Linked DNA regions of Homo sapiens: region 1 is linked to region 2. Evidence: promoter capture Hi-C in 16 types of primary human blood cells and fetal thymus (Javierre and others, 2016). All regions are on one chromosome and are shown on one strand. The core of a region is centred on a gene start or on the middle of the fragment in contact, and the rest is flanking DNA. Distances in the headings are between cores, read along the strand shown. Region 1 overlaps EIF3E (eukaryotic translation initiation factor 3 subunit E). Region 2 holds the start of OXR1-AS1 (OXR1 antisense RNA 1).

Evidence for each region. Contacts are between HindIII fragments. The CHiCAGO score rates a contact against its expected background, and 5 or more counts as called.
Region 1: a contact is called between a fragment that was not itself captured here and the fragment with the promoter of OXR1-AS1 in region 2, in 7 of 17 cell types (total CD8 T cells, total CD4 T cells, non-activated CD4 T cells and 4 more). The highest score is 15.4, in total CD8 T cells.

What each region holds. Positions count from the first base shown.
Region 1 is chr8:108,243,468-108,246,536 of GRCh38, reverse strand. The region is part of intron 1 of EIF3E (eukaryotic translation initiation factor 3 subunit E); the gene reads left to right. Among named protein-coding and RNA genes, the nearest start is that of EIF3E, 3.7 kb to the left of the region's middle. The HindIII fragment of the contact is 1,352 bases long and covers 713-2,064 here.
Region 2 is chr8:106,656,468-106,659,724 of GRCh38, reverse strand. OXR1-AS1 (OXR1 antisense RNA 1) reads left to right here and starts at 2,005. Exons shown (of 3, transcript XR_007061059.1): 1 at 2,005-3,257. The region is part of intron 3 of OXR1 (oxidation resistance 1); the gene reads right to left. RefSeq lists silencers at 1,395-1,544, 1,585-1,834 and an enhancer at 1,905-2,114. The HindIII fragment of the contact is 2,439 bases long and covers 398-2,836 here.

The DNA.
Region 1 (3,069 bases), core at 139-2,638, 1.6 Mb before region 2:
AATCCAAGATAAAACCCAGACATCTCACCACTAAACAACTTACCTATCCTTTAGAGTTGAATGTTTTTGATATAAGGTAAAAATAAATGTCGAAGAGGTAGGTACTGGTAGAGTGCTATCAAAATTGAGATTTTGTTATCTTCAGTGAGCAAAGAGGACTTTGAGGAGGTGAGGCTTTGAGTCTTGAAGGCAAAATGGTTAGAATAGAGTCAGTGATCCTGCTATGTGAGGATACAGCAGCCCCCCCCCCCCACACCCCCTTAGCAGTTTCAATTTCTGCAGTTCCAGTTACTCATGGTCCAAAAATATTAAATGGAAAATTCCAGAAATTAGCAATTCGTAAGTTTTAAATTGTTCGCCCTTCTGGGTAGTAGGATGAAATCTGTCTCGCTCTCTTGCTTAAAACTGGGACATGAATCATCCTTTTGTCCAATGTATCCACACTGTATATGCTAACTTAATTGTTCTATTTTGTTATTGTTCATCTCTTGTTCCCAGTTTATAAATTAAACTTTATCATAGGTATGCATGTATAGGAAAAAAACAGTAAATATAGGATTGGGGCTATCTGCAGTTTCAGGCAGCAGCCGCTGGGGGGTCTTGGAACATTTAGCTCATGGATAAGGGGAGACTATTACATTGCACCAAGAGAAAAACAGTTTCATATATTTGTAGTACATTGGAGAATATAAGCTTCATGAGAGCAGAAGCTTCCTTGTGCTCTCAGCACATAATATGAGTCTGGCATAAAGGCTTTTTATGATTGTTTAATAAATGATTGAATGAATACATACTTGTTTCTCACTCTTCTTTATTTTCATGTGAAGCAGAAGGCCAGATAGTGAAATATTTAGGACCCTGGGCTCTGAATTGGACCTTTCATGACTCGGTCATTTAATACCTCTGTGCAGTCAGAGCAGATTCTTTTACCCTCTTAACCTTTTCTCATGAATAAAATGTTAATACTACCACCAATCTCATCGGGTTAGAAAAATTACATGAGATAATGCATATAAAACACTACGCTCTTCTGGGACAGAGTGAGTACTCCTTAATGTTTTGTGTTTTGAGACAGGGTCTCGCTTTGTCACCTAAGCTGGAGTGCAGTGGCACAATCTTAGCTCATTACAGCCCTGACTTTCTGGGCTCAAGCAATTCTCCCACCTCAGCCCCAGAAGTAGCTGGGACTACAGGTGTGCGCCACCATGTCCGGCTGATTTTTTTTGTATTTTTTGTAGAGATGGGGTTTCACCATGTTACCCAGGCTGGTCTCAAACTCCTGAACTCAAGTGATCTGCCACCTTGGCCTCGCAAAGTGCTGGGATTACAGACATGAGCCACCACCCTTGGCTCTAAATGTTTTTTATTTTGGAAGACTAGCCCATTCTGTATTGGTATGGGATGGGAGGGGGGGGCAGTGAGGGTTTTGAGGAGTAAGGTAAGGACTGGAAATGGTTACTAAGAAACTGATCAAAGGAAAGTACAAGGATTGGTTAAGTGTGGAGGGCCCAACTGAGATTGGAAATCATACCTTAGAGCTAATAATGGGGTCATTCTCAGGGCGAGGAGCGGTAGAAGGCTATGGGAGTAGTATAGACATATTTAGGGGTAGGCTTGTATGTAAATGCCATTTAGAGAAGCACAGATGTGATCGAATAACATTATTCCCTAATTTTGAAACATTTTGTAGTCATCCTTAGCCAGAACCTAGAGAATAGGTGACTTTTTTTCCAGAGTTAGTGATTGACACTGAATTGTATATAGTTGGAGAAATTAGTTTGAAAGAATCAATGATAGAACTGAAGAGAAAATCTTTGAAATAGCTAAAAATGATATCCAAACTAAGGCAGAAAGTGACATCAAAAAGGGTATTACAAAAATTAGAAAGGGCAGAAAGTCTGAGATGATGAAGATTTTAATGGTAATGGTGGAAGGGGTTATCAGTTTTAAGTTGGAATTCTTGGAGATGAGGGGTTATCAGTTTTAAGTTGGAATTCTTGGAGATGAGATACATGATGAAAATTGTCATAATTTGAGGAATAAAGGAATTTTAGGGCTCAAGCTTTTAAAGAGTCATCAGTATGGCATTATATTTGTGTTGAATGACAGCAGAGGAAGAGACAGCAAAAAAAGATTCTTAATCTGTTAAAAAGTAATATGTTTTCAAGAGGTTGATAGACGACGGATCAGCAGACTATAGCCTGGGAATCAGATAGCAGCCTGTTTTTGTGTGGTTTTGGGGCTAAGAATAGTTTGTAACAGAGGAACATTTGCAAACATTAGCAATTATAGAATATTAACTTTATACCCCAATTAAGTGAAATAATTTCTCTTGAAAAAGCATTCTATTCTTATTAATAGACCTGTATTACAAAAACTTTTACTGTTATTATTTCTGTTTCAAAATTTTTAAAAAATTGTGGAAATTTGATTCTCGTTTTTCATGTGAGTACTTATATAGTATTTTCAATTGTTGCTTCTTGATACAAAGTCTGAAGTATTTGCTTTCTGCTTATGAGGCAGAATTGAGAGGCATATGTAGATTTGAGAACAGGACAGTAACACCTGATGGTAGAGGAGCAAGGCTATTGAATCTATTGTGGAGAGAGACGTGGCAAATTAAAAGTTACTAGTGGAGTGGGGAGAGGTAGCGTGCTTGGAAAAGAATGTTTTTATTTAAGATTAGTGTTTCTATAGGGCAAAGTGATGAGAAGTTAAGGTTTTTTAGGTAAATTTTTTATCAGATATGACGTTCATTCATACAAGTACACAAATATAAATGTACTGGTCAATGATACATATTTTTTTCAAAATGAATAGCGAATACATTTATGTGACCACCACTCAGATTAATAAATAAAACATTACAGACATCCTTTTTTTTTTTTTTTTTTTTTTCTTTTTTTTTGAGACAGAGTCTTGCTCTGTGGCCCAGGCTGGAGTGCAGTGGCGCAATCTCGGCTCACTGCAAGTTCCACCTCCTGGGTTCACGTCATTCTCCTGCCTCAGCCTCCCGAGTAGCTGGGACTACAGGCGCCCACCACCACGCCCGGCTAATTTTTTGTATTT
Region 2 (3,257 bases), core at 756-3,255:
GGCCACCGAATGAATCAGATACACGTGTTTGGCCATATTTATTAAAATACTAACCATATTCCTTTTTAGTTAAGTTACCCCACATATTTCTGAATTCTCCACCCATTTCAAGGCTGGTCACACATCAACTGTTTTCAATTAGGCTACTGAAAACTCATTTTAAAAAGTCCTTGATTTGAACACTTTAAAGTCCCTTTCCTATGCCTGGTCCCACCTTTAAGAGGATTCTGCATTTGGTTAACGTCCTTCAGAGCAGAAACAAAAGTATTCCCCTCCCCTTTTCATTTCCTAATTCCATAAACAGCATTTCTAAAGATAAAAAATATTTTATGTAAAGTAAGGAAAATTTATTTTAAAGGGCTATGCTAAAATGAGACTTTAATATTTCTTCAAAGCTTAAATTACATACCTACACACATAGATCAAAAATGTCCTCACTGTTTTACTGCTTTAAAACAACTGGCAGGGCCCAGCATGGTGGTTCAGGCCTGTAATCCCAGCACTTGGGAAGGCCTAGGCAGGAGGATCACTTGAGGCCAAGAGTTAAGACCAGCCTGGGCAACACAGCGAGACTCCATCTCTACAAAAATAAAGTAAGATAAAATTTAAAATAAAATGACTGGCACGATGTGGAGTTATAAACAGATTTTACACACTTTGTGCCTATCTCTATTTTCTAAACTCTCTAATGCTCATTTATTTTCATAACCCTCAAATATTAAAGCAATTAACAAAAATAAAAATCAGACATGGCTAGGATGTCTGCTACCTGTTAAACGAAGCCAAGGACACTGGAAGTTACCCTATGCATTATGCTAAAACTGTTCAGCAGCACTTTCAAAAATTCTTTAAGTTATCAATATCATGTCGCTACAAATGACTGTTTTAAAGAATGGTACAAAGCCACTGTGGTGAAAAAAATCGGCCAACACAACACAAAATAAACAGGAACTGAGAAAGTTTCTAGGTTCTGCCACCACAAGACAACGTGCAGCCGTTCAAAAAGTACACGACGCAAAATGTCAACTAGCTTCCAATGTTAATGAAGTGTTTTATTTTACAAAGAAGTATCTGGCTTTTTATTTTTCGGTTAGGAAGTGAATCCTAACAACTGAGAAATATTAAGGAAAGACTGACCCAAACCAAAACCAAAGCAGGCACAGCGCTCTTCAAGAATCCAAGACTGAAAACACGGACGTCATAACTGGTTCAGTCTTCACCTCCCAGTGGGAGGGAAAGAGAGAATGGATCGTCCCCTTGAAATACTTGGCGGGGAAAGAAAATCAAGTCTAGGTGAGGAAAGCAGGAAGAGCAGAGCAGGAAGAGCTGGCACGCAGCTGAAAGTCTTCCCTCCCCAGAGCCGAACGAGTCCTTCCTTCCTCGCCCCCGGCGGCCGCCACCCCGGCCACGTTGCCCGCCCCGGCCCAGGCACACCTGCCAGAGCCGGGCAGCGACCCCCGCCCGGCGCCACGACCGCCGCCTCCCCACAGCCCTCAGCCCAGGTCGGCCGCGCGGGAGGCGAAAGAAAGGTGGGCTCACCAGGTCCCTCCGGGCTGGACGGCGCCGGGGGCCGGTGGGGCGGGGACCCGCACCCGAGGTCCCCCTGGGCTGGCTCCCTCAGGTAATCTTCGAAGCGCACCTGCCGGGCTTCGCCGCCGCCCCCGAACCCCAACAGGCGGTTGGCCGTGCCCCGCAGAAGGCGCCCACTCTTCTCGGTGAACGTCGTCAGGTAGTCCATGCTGCCGCGGGGCTGGACGCGGAACTGGGGCCCAGGAGGTCGACGGTTTCGGCGGTGGCGGCCACCACTAGCGCGCCCACCGGCCCATCAGACCTGACCCAGGGGAGGCGGCTCCGCGCGCCTCACAAGAGGCGGGGAGGAGGAGGGGGCGTCCCTCTCTCTGCCCGGGGACGGACCATCAGGAAACCACGCGTCGGGGGAGCAAAAGACGGACAAAAGTTTTCGAAAAGTTTTTCTTGTGGCTTCTAAATGCAAAATGAGGCAGAACTTAGCTTGTCACATAGGTGTATTCTTCCTGGAACCGATGCGGGGTCAGAAAACTGATGGCTTTTAAGCAAGCTGGACGGGTCCTCTCAGCGCATTCCCCCACCCGCCTGGCGCCAATGGAGCTGGCCTGGCCCGCCCAGCCCCTCCCCGCCCCGTCCGCGCTCGGACCGGACTTTCAGGACTGCAGGGGAAAGGGTGGACACCCAGCCTCCCGCCAGGTCAGAGCAGAGGCTAAAAATGGCCCAGGGGAGACTGCTGGAGTTGCATGGAGTTCGGGAGCCTAGGAGGGGTCTGAAAATAACTGTCAAAAAGTTTGAAGGGTGTGTGTTGGCTTGGGGAAAAAAGAGGGTGGAGTGCATTACATAAAACTTTTGCAGCTTGTATTTCCTTTTTTTTTTTTTATGTTTAAGGACGGCGGAGATACCTTCAACGTAAGACTGCAATCATAATTAAAACATGAATAGTAACATTTTAAGTTCGTTGTGCCATTATGAACTCATGTTAGTGTTGGACATTCTATGATCCCAGTCCTGTTTAGGCAACGTTATTGAGGGATTTAGTTTGCGGATCTACCTTTCAGGGACAAAGAACCTAGACAGGGAAAGAACAGTAACTTTTGACAGAAATTTTGCTTCCTGTGAGATGTGGTTATTCTCTTCCTTTCACATCTGTTTGTAGTTCTTTTAGTTTTCCCAGGCATTAAATAAATTAAACCCTCTTTCTTGGAATCACCAATATATTAATATATTGGGGGGAAAAAGATTTGAATTACTTAGGAAGTTGATGAACTACCCACTCCAACAATAGAGCCCTGAAAATCAGGCTTAAGCTTTTGGCCATACTACTAAAGACTATCCCTCCTGACAAACACACACCCTCTTTTTTTTTTTTTTTTTTTAACTGGTTGACAGATCTTTTTTGCATCATCACCATTTTCAGTTTAGATTCTTACTAGGTGGGATAAATTTCACCATTCTAATATCAGCCATCACCATTATGCCTGGTGAAAAATACAGAATGTCTGGGCTGCATCCTCAGAGTGTCTAATTCGGTGTTTATGGGAAAGGGACCCAGGAGAATCTGCATACCCAGCAATCCATGTTTTCAGGGTTGTGGCTTGGGAAAGAACTGTTCCAGACTTCTGCACTTCCTAAGGACCTATTTTGTAGATGTTGCAGTGGACGGAATGTTTGTGCTTTCCCTTAAATTCATTTGTTAAAATCCTAACCCCAATGTGATGGTATTAGGAGAT